5 separate regions of the Homo sapiens genome follow, and regions 1, 2, 3 and 4 are each linked to region 5. Evidence: promoter capture Hi-C in 16 types of primary human blood cells and fetal thymus (Javierre and others, 2016). All regions are on one chromosome and are shown on one strand. Each heading gives the region's core, a stretch centred on a gene start or on the middle of the fragment in contact. The rest is flanking DNA. Distances are from core to core; before and after follow the strand shown. Region 1 overlaps TARID (TCF21 antisense RNA inducing promoter demethylation). Region 2 has its middle 15 kb from the start of TCF21. Region 3 has its middle 30 kb from the start of TBPL1. Region 4 has its middle 14 kb from the start of TBPL1. Region 5 holds the start of STX7 (syntaxin 7).

The links. The method cuts DNA at HindIII sites, captures the fragments that hold promoters and counts their contacts. A CHiCAGO score of 5 or more calls a contact.
Region 1: a contact is called between a fragment that was not itself captured here and the fragment with the promoter of STX7 in region 5, in 1 of 17 cell types (naive CD8 T cells). The highest score is 5.0, in naive CD8 T cells.
Region 2: a fragment that was not itself captured here is called in contact with the fragment with the promoter of STX7 in region 5 in 4 of 17 cell types (total CD4 T cells, neutrophils, naive CD8 T cells and 1 more); the score reaches 10.8 in total CD4 T cells.
Region 3: a contact is called between a fragment that was not itself captured here and the fragment with the promoter of STX7 in region 5, in 6 of 17 cell types (non-activated CD4 T cells, naive CD8 T cells, total CD4 T cells and 3 more). The highest score is 11.1, in non-activated CD4 T cells.
Region 4: a contact is called between a fragment that was not itself captured here and the fragment with the promoter of STX7 in region 5, in 7 of 17 cell types (total CD4 T cells, naive CD8 T cells, total CD8 T cells and 4 more). The highest score is 13.2, in total CD4 T cells.

What each region holds. Positions count from the first base shown.
Region 1 is chr6:133,564,611-133,567,310 of GRCh38, reverse strand. All of the region lies in intron 5 of TARID (TCF21 antisense RNA inducing promoter demethylation), which reads left to right. Among named protein-coding and RNA genes, the nearest start is that of EYA4-AS2, 110 kb to the right of the region's middle. The HindIII fragment of the contact is 6,853 bases long and covers 1-2,700 here.
Region 2 is chr6:133,902,418-133,905,117 of GRCh38, reverse strand. No RefSeq gene overlaps it. Among named protein-coding and RNA genes, the nearest start is that of TCF21, 15 kb to the right of the region's middle. The HindIII fragment of the contact is 6,116 bases long and covers 1-2,700 here.
Region 3 is chr6:133,921,491-133,924,190 of GRCh38, reverse strand. No RefSeq gene overlaps it. Among named protein-coding and RNA genes, the nearest start is that of TBPL1, 30 kb to the left of the region's middle. The HindIII fragment of the contact is 691 bases long and covers 1,069-1,759 here.
Region 4 is chr6:133,937,482-133,940,181 of GRCh38, reverse strand. No RefSeq gene overlaps it. Among named protein-coding and RNA genes, the nearest start is that of TBPL1, 14 kb to the left of the region's middle. The HindIII fragment of the contact is 2,003 bases long and covers 305-2,307 here.
Region 5 is chr6:132,511,712-132,514,436 of GRCh38, reverse strand. STX7 (syntaxin 7) reads left to right here and starts at 1,321. Exons shown (of 10, transcript NM_003569.3): 1 at 1,321-1,430. RefSeq lists enhancers at 1,015-1,214, 1,572-2,073 and a silencer at 1,365-1,854. The HindIII fragment of the contact is 4,830 bases long and covers 1-2,725 here.

The DNA.
Region 1 (2,700 bases), core at 161-2,660, 1.1 Mb before region 5:
TGGCATGCTCATGGCCTATGCCACTGTATAGGAAACTGACATCCTGCAAATGAAAATCATATCCCCAATTCAAGTTGGTTCAGAGCCCAAAGATCCCCAGAACACTGGGTTGAATGATGCAGTAAAGTATTTTGAAAATTAGTCTGCTTTTCTCCACCTGCACATCCTCTCCCTCTTTGTAGCTTGGAGACCCATACACAATTCCAGAATCCTACAATTATTATTTTAATTAATTTGAGATGAACTAGTTCACAATACATTCTCATTATGTTCTCTGAAATCACTTCTGTTTATGTCTCTACTATAGCCCTTGTTGGAGTTTTGTTAGTTGTTTTTGTATCTACTGTTTTCATTTGTTATTAGAGCCCCTTAAAAGCAGAGACCATGTCTTCTTATTTATTTTTGTATTATTAGTACTTAGCACAGGATGTGCCTGTGGTGTTTTTTAAAGGTGATTTATCAATATTTTGCTGAGTAAATGGATGAATTGATGAGTGATTGAGGTACATTGTAATAAATGAATTGTAGATAAACTGAGACCAGGTCAATTCATTTATATTCACTTACATGGCTAGCCTTTAAGTTTCTGTTTGAGATGGGCTGTCAGGAGCTTAAACAAATTAAAAATAAGAAGAAACAATACCCCAATTAGGAAAATGTTCCATAGTGTTTAGTTTAGTATACAAAATGGAATTAAAAAGAGGCACCCTGGAATATTATAACATGTAACTCAAGCTATAAGTTCATTTTGTCCATAAGTCTCAGGTGTGCTATATTTTGGAGGAAAATCTAGGTTTGGTGGTCAGCAGTGAGAATGATGACTGATTTCTGATGGTGGGTTATCTAGGTGGGTGAAGTAGAAAATCATAGATGCCACTTCATGGCTTTTTGGGAGAGCCATTTTTATCATTTTTATTTTAAAAATGATAATTACTCTAAAACTTTTAGACCTCAAGATATATTTCTGATTAGGCACAAGTAACAATTGTAATATAGTAAAACTCAAATTAAATACCTGTAGTTTTGTCTTTGCTTCTTTCTTCTCCCCTCCATCCCCCAGCAGAATTGAATATTTTTAGATTGTTTATCTGAGTGCTGGTGTCTGATCTTGGTAAACTTGTTGACTGTGCTTACTCTGTGGGTACAATTATTTGAACAGAATCAATTCTAGTTTTCTAAATGGGCAGTTTTACTTCCAAAAATTATAAACCCTTTGCCTACTGGGATTTGTTACAATTATCTAAGTTGGTTTACTTCTTACAAAAATTATAATCCTGTGTTTCTGAGACCAATATTTTATTAATACCTGAGGAATAAGATATATTCTCATTCAGCCCTTTCCTAGTGATGATTCTTATCCTTCCTAATCTTCTTTGGGGAGTATGAAAGGAATCACCCAAGGTTGTTCCTTTTATTGCTGTTTTGAAATGTTTAGCTCTGTGCCCAGAAATTGACTATGCACAAGGTATAGGAGTAGAATATACACTCTTGATAACCTGGCTCCTTGGTCATGTGAACTGTATCTTGATATTAATACAGGAGCTACCAACAGGTTAAAAGGTACCTTAAAAATTGAGATAACCCTTTTGAGAAAAAAATATTGAACAGTTTTTCCCACTTCTTTTTCTTAAAACATTATTTGCTATGTTTTTAAAAGTTACCTAATTCAATAGTCACCAAGATTTCAGTATAATGACCCAGTTTCAAGTTTTCTAATATCAAAGAACAATTATAAACATTCATAAGGTAGAGTAAATAGTACCATATAACCTTGATATAACCATTACTCAGATTCAAAAACTATCAATAGTTTATATTTGCTTGCCTATCACTTTTTCCTTTTTTTTTTGCTGAAATATTTGAAAGCAAATCTTATATTATTTCACCTCTACATAACAATGTTTTAACATAACCACAATGACATCATAACACTTAACAAAATTAAAAATTGTTCTTGGTCCCATATAATATTCAATTAATAACTGATTTCCCGGATTGTATCAAAATATGGTTTTTACTGTTTTTTGTAGAGGTTGCACACATCCAGTGTTGAAAACATAGCCGAATTCCCACATAATACACATTGATTAGGAACATGAAGATATATTACCTATGTGAACTTGGTAAAACTTTTAAATATAATTGTGTTTTGCTATTCTCCATATCATCAACATATATTTAGAAAACAATAGTGCATATGTGTGGTATTTTTCAGATTACACACAGTGTTAGATGACCATATGTATTTGTAGTATTTGTAATAATTTTGCCACCCCTCTTTAGGCTGTGAGTCTTTGATCTAGACTAGGTATGTTAAATGGTTAGAGAAAATGCTAATTTAGATAAAGATTTGTATTTATTTTGGGATTTGTTATGTTGTTACTGTATTTTGTTACTGGTTTCATTAAGAATTATAAACTATCCTCTCTTGGTGGAATTTTAGTTATAAGCCTGGATTATTATTCTAGTGATTTTCTAAGGCTTAATGCTATGGAATACTTAATGCATGAGATAATTTTGGATCTTTTGGCATACTAAAATCTGAGAGCTTCTTTATACTTGACTTTGCACTATTCCATTTTTATAATACTTGTTAGTTACTCATATATTCCTAAATTGTGAATTTTACATTATTCAAAAGTTATTTTTATAATTAAAATGATGCTTTATGAATTAAATTCTAAAAATTATAATCTTAAG
Region 2 (2,700 bases), core at 102-2,601, 1.4 Mb before region 5:
GCAGAATGGTTAGACTTCCCTCTATGGCAAGAGGAAAAAAAAGTTAAATTAAAAATTGAGTCCTAGTAGTGAACTAAGTGATTTCTGGTGGGGTATAAAATAAGAAGCAATTTAGAAATGTGTATCAACATCCTAAAACTGGTCATGATCTTTGGCCCAGAAGTCTACTTCTGGAAGATGGAGACAAGGATCTAAGATGGGCATCCCAGCTCCAAGCAAAACTGCAAAATCAGACACAACCTAAATACCTGGAAATCATGGAATGGTTAGCTAAACTGTAGATGGAACAAATAACATATGATAAAATATTAAATGTTTTGAAGGTTTAGCAAGTTCTCGGAGTACCATGCTCTCTTCTCACAGAGGGACATCATCCTTCTCTTCTCAGCCCCATTTTGCTTATGCAGCCATAAGCAAAGTTGAGATGGGTCCCAGACCTAGGGTCATAACAGTAACTAAACAGATGTGAATGTATAATTCGTTTCAGGATTTTTTTTTAAATATTATGGAATGTGGAGAAGGAACTCATTCTAATGAGAGAGAGACAGTCTTAGAAGCAATTTCATGCTCTTTTTGGTATTGGTCCTAACTAGTTTTTAAGACTTCCTATAGCATACAGTTGAGACCGGGTGGGGTATTTATCAGACCAAATAACAGTCTGGTTCAAAAACCTTGGGATTCTTCTCTAGAGTTGTAACTTTTAAAAAATTGTTTTTAATGTTAGAAGGAACTTTAGAAATCTTACTGGTGAAGAAACCAAGGCACAGAGAGATTAAGTGACAGTTTGGATTATAATACCAAAAGACACATTTTTAAACACCATAATTGTTAATGTTGAAATCCTGAAAGAGCAAAATCCTCAAACTCTAAAAATCCTAAAATCCCCAAATCCCAAAATCTCAAACATCACCATCACAGGATAGTTGGATTATATTTGACAAGCTCTTATGAACCATCTCCATGCAAATTGCCCAAATCTATCCCTATATTATACTTGTTTATATGCTGAATTTTCTTTTTAGTTTTTAAATTTGCTTTTCCTTTTTTTAAAAATTTTCACTATTTTAAATTGTCAGCATTATTTCTTATAATTCTACACGCTATGTATTTAATCTTCACATCATTTCCAATATTGGAGGTATAAATCGTATAGAGACTTTTAGAGCATTCTAATTTGTTTTATGCATGTTTTGCAAATTTGACTCCATGAAGATGCATTATCAGAATGTTGCCTTTGTGTGTAAGCATTGTGCATGTACATAAAAATGTTAAAACTTCTTCAATAAATGAATAGATGTTCTTTTGTACATCTGCATTTGTGAAAGGTAAGATTTCTCAAGATCTCAGCTCTTAGGGTAACTGTATATGTGGTGGTGACCCATTGAGGTTTTCAATTGATCTTATCAGAAGGTTATGGTTGTTCATCATGGTATTTCAGATGGCCAGAGTTATAAAGTTGGGTACACTCAACTACCAACCATAGTGATATGCATTGATCCATTTCCTTTTCTGACCTACTTCCTTGTGAATACAATTTGTCTGCTCATAACTGTTTTGTCCATGTGACTGTCACTAGTATGCCTGAGTGCCTATGTTTGCAAAAATATATACATTATTATGGCTTATTTTATTATGTAAAGTGGCCTATGAAGCCTTCTGTTGCATTTTTATGCTTCTCAAGTAAATCCCCTTTTTAAAGTATAAATAAAAATCTTTTAAAAAATTAAATTTTTTTTTCAGAATTATATTTTTGAGATTCTGATCTTTTGGGATTCCAACATTCAGGTTTATAGCATTTGGGATTGTGTCTTTTGGGATTATGATCAGCTTCCATTAAAGGATTTGCTTGGGGTCAGAGCAGCTAGATGGCAGAGCATCCAAGCTCAAGTCTATCTATGAGCTTTTGAAAATACCACTTTTTGGTTGGTGTTATGGGTCACGCCAGTAATTCTAGCACTTTGGGAGGCCAAGGTGGGCTGATCGCTTGAGCTCAGGAGTTTGAGAACAGCCTGGGTAACATGGAGAAACGCTGTCTCTATAAATAATATTAAAAAATTAGCCAGGCAAGGTAGCACACAGTAGTCCTAGCCACTTGGGTGGCTGAGGTGTGAGGATCGCTTGAGCCCAGGACATAGAGGCTGTAGGGAGCCAAGATCGCGCCACTGCACTCCAGCCTGGGTGACAAAGTGAGACCCCGTCCCCCCCCCCCAAAAAAGGAAATATTACTTTTTAAAAAACTTATTCTAATACATTTGAATGTACCTGATATGAAATATTGAGAAGGATAGTGGAATTCAGTATCATATAATTTATGAGTTAATGTATAAGATTCAAAAGAGAAGAAAAAGCAAAAGACAGGTTCTAGAGACAAAAAGGTTTGGAAAATTGATGAACTGTTTGAGGGGATGGTCCCTAAGATGATGCAGAGGGCCTTGGGAGGTGGGGAATGAAAAATTAGCTCAGCTATCACTCTGATGGTCTATCATTCATAGTTTTTGAGTTGATTTTCCAGTAGTGGAGGTAAGTTTCTGTGAACACATCTATCATATTTAAAAATTTTTTCACTTAGGACCAAAAGTACATATTTACAAGATGGCTGCCCATATCCATGTAGCAGAATGATGGCCCACCGTATATAGCTCATCTCCAAATGGCCAGAGTCCAATTTCAGCCTTGGGAAAATAAAAACCTCCAGGACAA
Region 3 (2,700 bases), core at 165-2,664, 1.4 Mb before region 5:
CAGCAGCAGTCAAGATCCCTATTGTGAACATACAGAAAAGGAAATGAGAGACAAGGCTGCCACCATGTGGTGTAACAGGTGAACAGGAAGGAGGGGTTTATACAGAGAAGCATAAGAATTGGGAAGCTTATGAAAGGTGAATGTCCATTCATTAGAACAGTAATTGTCAACCGTTTATAATTGCTGTCATGACTCGGTGAGATCTACAAGTTTCTGAAATCCTCCTTATGGTACATCAGGAACTCCTGGACAGCCATTAGACCTAGCCATGCAGCTGCCTTAAAACTTAGGAAGATTTTATAATTGACAGATGTCCATGGATTGAGAGGTCTATAGAAGGCCCTTAGGAATATTTTTTATCTAAAAGTAGACCTACATATGTTTAATTTTATTTTATAAAATCAAATTAAGTAAACCAATATTATGGGATATTACACTATTAACCTTCTTTTTTTTGTGTTCCCATCTTTTTTACCATCAGATAGCTTTGGCATGATAGTCATATTCTATACATGAGATTATTTAATTAAATCGAATTTAAAAAATGCTAAGTGAAGCAAGTATTTAAGAAGTCAATATTTAAATAGGTTTTGCTTTCAGTAGTTACATAAGTTGTATTCTAGTTTGAGTGTCACAGAAATGGGCATGAGATATATTTTTGTTAAACATAAGAGGGAAGCACAAGTGAACTCACTGCTCGAGTTTCATAAAAGCCACTCTGTAGATGTGATGCTCCCAGCAAGCTGACCCAGGGTAAGAAGCAAGGCAATGAAAGATCAATCCACCAAAAATACTGTAGCAGCTGCTATCCTTGTCCTAGACAATCACAAATTGCTCATGGCATGTACCCACATATCTGCACTACTTCACCCAGAATCAGTGAGAACGGGCAGGGGGCAACATATCAGCGGCTCTTCCTCTGCTAATCTAAAAGAATTAGAAATAGGCTGCTCCCTATAAAATTGCCTGACATTCTTAAAACAGCCTAATAATCTCAAAGGAGCAATTTCCTTTATTAATTGAAAGCAGCTGAAAAATATATTAGCCTCATTTTATATTTTTAAAGCTTAAATATCTAAAGTATTGGAAACAAAGAAAACTGTACATCAGAGGGGAAGCAAAAGGTGACTAGATTGGGCCCTGGCCTCATGGCATGGTCAAGATGTTGAGCCGGCCAGGCGCGGTGGCTCATGCCTGTAATCCCAGCACTTTGGGAGGCCAAGGAGGGTGGATCAATTGGGGTCAGGGGTTCCAGACCAGCCTGGCCAACATGGTGAAACCCTGTCTCTACTAAAGTTACAAAAATTACCCAGGTGTGATGGCATATGCCTATCATCCCAGCTACTTGGGAGTCTGAGGCAGGAGAATCACTTGAACCCAGGAGGGTGGAGGTTGCAGTGAGCCGAGATCGTGTACTCCAGCCTGGGTGTCAGAGTGAGACCCTGTCTAAAAAAAGAAAAAAAAAGTTGAGTCCTGGAGTAAGACTTATTTGGACTAAAATACCAGTGTCACCGCTTAGATGATGACTTTGGTGAAGTTATTGAACCCCTCCCGTCTTCAGTTTCCTCATCTGGAAAATAGCCTGTCCTCTGGGTTGTGGCAAGGATTATAGAGGTAAAGCCATGCAGAGCACTTAGCACAGTGTCTAGCATTTACTCAGCACTCCATAAATGCTAGGCTAATAGAATCACCCAGAACTAGAGATGTGAATACAGCTAGATTCTGAGCACACTCACAATGAAAGTTAAAGAGAAAAGCTTAACTTCTATTGCATTTTTTAGACATTTACAAAAAATATGTGTCATCCAAAAAGCAATAGTTGAATGCCTGCAGGATTTCTCAAAGGCAGGACCTTAGTTGAGGCACCACATTTTCAGCTTAGAACTTGGAATTTCTTAGCACATCACATCAAAAAATTAGTCCCTTTGTGAAAAGTTCGTCCTGAGTTAGTGACTAGAGCACCAATATTCTAGTCAAATGATCTTACATTCAGAGTTTTAGATTCATCACTTACTAGTTGTGAGTTCTTGAACTTCAGTTTTCTCATATTGTAAAGTAAGAATAACGGCCGGGCGCGGTGGCTCATGCCTGTAATCCCAGCATTTTAGGAGGCTGAGGCAGCCGAATCACGAGGTCAGGAGTTCAAGACTAGCCTGGCCAATATGGTGAAACTCCGTCTCTACTAAAAATACAAAACTTAGCCGGGAGTGATAGTGGACGCCTGTAATCCCAGCTACTAGTGAGGCTGAGGCAGAAGAATCGCTTGAACCCGGGAGGCGGAGGTTGCAGTGAGCCGAGATTGCGCCGCTGCACTCCAGCCTGGGTGACAGAGTGAGACTCCTTAAAAATAAATAAATAATAAGAGTAGTAGCAAGTACTTATAGACAGCTTACCAAAAGTATAGCACTCACTATGTTACCACTGCAGCAGGGAGATAATGTATGTAAACACCTATCCTAGAGCAAGCCTCAATAAGTTTATTTTATTACCTTGGAATTCTTTGATGGTGGTGTCTAGAGAAACCCTGGGATTTAGGAATTTGGGAATGGACTAACAAATCCATTTTGACTTATGAATGGAAAAAGAAGAATATAGGAGGAAATGATTTGGCAGTGTTCCAGTTATCAATTTGTTGTCTCTCAGCTCCAAATCCACTCCTGGTTGCCTGTTCAGCTGGAAACCCACTGTTCTGGAGCCAGT
Region 4 (2,700 bases), core at 57-2,556, 1.4 Mb before region 5:
AAGATACTGTAAGACCAAAATTAGGAACGAAAAAGAACCAAGAGAGATAAATAAGCAGTAGAAGGTGTTTATGCTTTGTAGGGGTAATGACAACTTGAACTTTCGTTTTGATGTCCCCACTGAGTGAAAGGTATGGCAATTGCCCAGGGATTGCACAAAGCAGGAAGCTGAACAGGAAGGAGATCCTCCTGACAGTGAGGTAGGAAATGAAAGGGCTGTGTCCTTAGGGCAAGAATATACCTGAAATAAACAAATCCTCTTTTGGTTGTTTCCATCATGGTGACGGTCCCGGGAATTTCAAGCTTTGAACTTAGATTAAGGTAGTCTCAGACTGATGGTGTCCTTAGGTGCCTAGCAGAAACAAAGATATCTCTCTATAGGAAGGTGGATTCCTGTTAGGCTAGGATAGTTCCCACAAATACATTTTAAAGTACTATTACCAGAACATGTGTAGTCAAGTTTAAACAGACACATGAGGAAAGAAGACAACATAAGCAAGAACAAACAGAAATAACAAAGGCCATAGAACCACAAATACTTAATATTTGGATTTAGCAGGTTATAAAACAGGTAATAAAACTATAGTTATTATTTAATGAAATAAAAGATAAATTTGAAATATCTTCGGGAAAAATTACGTTGCAGATATTTAAAAAAGGACCAAAGAATAAAATAAATTTATATGGTTCAGAAATTCTCCACTGTTTTAGTCTTCTGGTGGCACTCCATACTGGTTTTTAGTGCTGCTACGAATTAATTTTTTTTTCTTTGAGACGGAGTCTCACTCTGTCACCAGGCTGGAGTGCAATAGCACAATCTTGGCTCACTGCAACCTCCACCTCCTGGGTTCAAGCGATTCTCCTGCCTCAGTCTCCCAAGTAACTGGGATTACAGGCATGCGCAACCACACCTGGCTAATTTTTTTTTTTTTTTTTGTATTTTTAGTAGAGATGAGGTTTCACCATGTTGGCTAGGCTGGTCTCAAACTCCTGACCTCAGGTGATCCACCCACCTCAGCCCCCCAAAGTGCTGGGACTCTAGGTGTAAGCCACCATGCCTGGCCTGAATTAATTTTTATGTTTATGTTTTTACATAATTTTTATTTTTACATTTCTTCAATTTAATTGCATTTTGAAAGGGCAAGGAGGTAAATATGCATTTTAGGCCACCTTGAAAGCCAGTTGATGACTTTAACGGCAGACTAAATACAGTTGAAAAGAGAATTGGTGAACTAGGAGCTAGGTCAGAAAAACAATAATTTAAAAGTGAAACAGAGAGACAAAAAGAAAACACAGAATAAGAATTAAAAGAAATAAACAACAGAGGAGAATAGATTAATATACATCTCATCAGAATCTAGGAAGGAGAGGAGAGAGAAATGGGGCAAAGGTAATATCTGAAGAGATAATGGCTGAGAATTTTACGGAAGTGATGAAAGACACTAATGTACATGAAAGACACTAATGTACAGGTTAAGACAACCCAGTGAGTCTCAAGCAAAATAAACAAGAAGAAACCTATATCTAAAATTGTCATAATGAAACAGCTGAAGAGCAAAGCTAAAAAAAATAGAAAAAGAAAAGAAAATAGTGAAAACAATCAGAGAAAAGTGATGAATTGCTTTCAAAGGAGTAAATATGAAACTGACATGACTGCTCAGCAGCAGCAAGAGACATCAGAAGACAATGGAGGGGGATCTTCCACTTACTGAGAGAAAATTACTATCTAGTCTTAATGTCTAGTGAAAAATATTTTAATAGTGAGGCTGAAATAAAGACATTTTCAGGCTAATGAAGACTAGTAGTTTTTCCTAAGCAGAATCATACTAAAGAAAGTTATAAAAAAAGTGCGTTAGGCAGATAAAAAAAATGTAAGCTATAAAAAGGTATAAAGAACAAAGAAAGTGGTGAATAAATAAGTTAATATACACTGAAAGAGTAAAAGAACAACAATATAGCATCTAAAAAATAGAAAAAAATGCAATTACAAGTATCACATATGTTGAAGAGGGTCAAATGGAATCAAATATCCTAAGCAGCTTGTATGAAGGGTAAAGGTTAAGTATGCATGTTGTAATTCTAGGATAATTACTAAAAGAATAGAAACAAATTACACAATCTCCCAGCAGTAAAGGGAAAAAATTGGATGATAAGAAACAATTTGTTGAAAGAAGCAAGAAAAAAGAGAAAAGTATATACTGAATAGGTAGAACAAATAGCACACCATAAGATGGTAAATTAAAACCCAAATATGTAGACAATTACATTAAATGTATATGAACTAAATACTCCAGTTAAAAGTCAAGCTTATCAAGCTTGACTGATTAAGAAAAACAAAACAGGACAGGCACAGTGGCTCAGGCCTGTAATCCTAGCACTTTGGGAGGCTGAGGTGGGTGGATCACTTGAGGTCAGGAGTTCAAGACCAGCTTGGCCAACATGGTGAAACCACATCTGTACTAGAAATACAAAAATTAGCAGAGCTTGATGGCGCATATCTGTAATCCCAGCTACCTGGGAGGCTGAGGCAGCAGAATCACTTGAACCTGGGAGGTGGACGTTGCAGTGAACCCAGGTTGCAGTGGAGCCACAGCACTCCAGCTTGGGTGACAGAGTGAGATTCCATTTCAAAAAAAGAAAAAGAAAAACAAAACAAAACAAAAACAAAATCTAACTATATGCAGCTTACAAGAGAGACCCA
Region 5 (2,725 bases), core at 72-2,571:
GACTATAATTCTTTTTTTTCCCATTTGAATACCAAAGGATGAAATCTTATTCTAAGTTTTCAAAAGACCTGGAAGGAATCCACTCATAACATATTTTAAAACAAGGAATTGGAATGAGCCCAAGATGAGGGCTCAGACAGCTAAGTTTTGGGCCCAGCATAGTCAGTAACTATCAGGGTAACTTGAAGAGGCCACTTAATCTCAGGTTCTTCTGTAGTGCATTGTACCTTCCCTCCCCGGAGCCCAGAGTTCTATCAAAGGTAATATGAATGGGTATTTGGAAAGTGCACTAAACCTCACATGGATGTAAGATCCTTTCATGTGTTCCTTCAATGATTGAAATGTTTCTTCCTACGTTCACCAGCCACTTCCTAATTCTCAAGTACAATGCACTACTTTCAGTTCTTTATTTACTTGAACTTTGTGTAACAGGTGACATCATGGACAATTCCCTCCTTTTTTCCTTCATTCTCTAGTTTACCTTTTCCTGGTTTATTTCCTATCTTGTGGGTTACTCGTTTTCAGGGTTATTCTTTCTCTGTCCATCTCTCTTAAGCAGACAACATTCCACACTTAGTGTTGGTGAGTTCCAATCAGAATTCTATCCTGGGTTTTGTTTTTTTCCACCTAAGTGCGTCTGGACTTTTGATATCACCTATCCGGGTAATCATTTTAGAAAATAGTGTTGCCTTAATATAGGCAAAGGCTAAGCCAATCTATCTTCTAATTAATTTGGAGAGGGCTTTCTTTCATTTGTAGCAATTGATGCTTTTCATCTAACAATTACAATATATTTGCATATTTATCATTGGAACTGTCTCTGCTTGTTTTAAACCCTGTGAAAACTACGCCCTGCTTTTCAGGAATGCTTAGAATGACTTGTATGTACTAGGAAAACTTGTTTACAAGTGAGCACCCAGAGATGACTCTTCACTTATTCCTTCATTGTTCCTGCTAGGATTGTGTACTCGCCTTTGCATTTTTCGATAGAGCTGTCAACGCGATCTACTGCAGTTAAAGGTTAGCAAACAAGACAGGCAAGAGCTAATGGGGCGGGGTGAAGACCCGCGTGCAAGAAGGCTGGCTTCACCAGATAAAGAAGACAACTGTCCTCCATTCTGTCCTTTTTTGCACGCAGGCTAAGAGGCGTTCACCATCTCTACGTCAGGCTTCAAAGAACAGCTCCCTTGCAATTTTGCTGATACCCCCATTCCTTAGCTTGGAACCGGAGGGGCGGTGAGGGCCGCTGTCACTCAGCCCCGCGGGCCAATAGAAAAGGGGTGAACCCCGCCTTCTTCCTGAGTTGTGCTGCGGGCATGCGCACTGGGCGTCCCCACGCCACCGCCCATCAGCTGAGAATTGCAGCTGAGGGCTCCGGGGTAGGTGGGTGACGGCGGTCGGAGGTGTAGGAGGGAGCCGTGGAGGTCCAGGTAAGAGGACCCTGGGGAGGGGGCTCCCTGGCCGGGCGACAGGGAGGCGCGGTGCCCCTGCGGCTGCTGCGCCTTCTTGTTTGTGCGCGTGGTCAGGTGGCCGCCGCCCTGCGCTCTGCAGCAGGCACTCGGGAGGCTAGGAAGGGCGGGACTGCCCCAGCTCCCGGAGCGCCTGCGGCTCCCCACGCCCCCCGGCCGGGTGCAAGGGCGCGGCGCGTTCCGCATTCCGGGTGCGCGCGGCTGTGGTCAGGTGGGCCTACCCAGCCACGCACCCGCCGCGGTCCCCTGGGCAGAGCTCCGGAGGCGCACGGCTGGCGGAGCGCACCCCGGGGAGGGCGCCAGAGCCGGCTGGGGCCCAGCTCAGGAATCCAGACACGACCAAATGACCTCTTCCTCTTTTCAACTCACGGATTGAAAAACACACTAAACTTCCCGAATATAGAGGAACTGAAAAATGTATGGCTGTAGCAGGCGAACCGTGTATGTTTATTTATTCAGAGGATCGTAGTATTGTTTTTTTAATTTGGCTTGATGACTTTAACATACTTTGACATTCTTTGAGTATACACCTTTAATTAATTTACATAAAAACCTTTAAACGTACATAAAATATTTCTAGTATTTCCTCCACCTTGTTTTCTAGTTACTTTCTTTAAATTCAGACAAAGAAAAAAAGTTGCATTTCTGATCAAATGCTGTGTGTTTTTTCCCACAAATTTCTTACATTTGTTTGGCTCTTATCTGTATACGTTAATTTTTGTTTACCTCAGATCGTTGTATTCTGACTATAATTATATATAATATATAAAACTTGCCCAGAATCTGGAAGAAAAGAAAGTAATTATGAAATGCTGTGCTATTTAATAATGTTGGAAGTGGACATTTCTTCTGCAGGTTCTCTGAGCACACCTGGGCAGAGGCTGATAACGGTGTTAAACTGTGTTTTGTGTTGTGGACAGGCCTTATAGGCTACTTTGAGAAGTTGGCCTCAGACTCGTGACTAGTTAAGAATTATGCTCTTAACTTCACAGTTTCTGTAGAGGTTAATATGATACCATATTAACTGATTAACATCATAATTTTTCCTCAGATATGTTACTTATGTTGCTCTTGATAACAAAATCAATCCTTATTTTGGTTATGACCCCAAACTTTAAGTGCTGATGATTGAAAAGTAAATTATAGAAAATATTCACAGTAAGTCTGAGTGAAGTTTGCTGTGATTCCATTTAATTTGCAAGTTTCATGTGTGAAAGTATGAAAAAAACAATCCTCGGTATTGTGAACTAAAACCA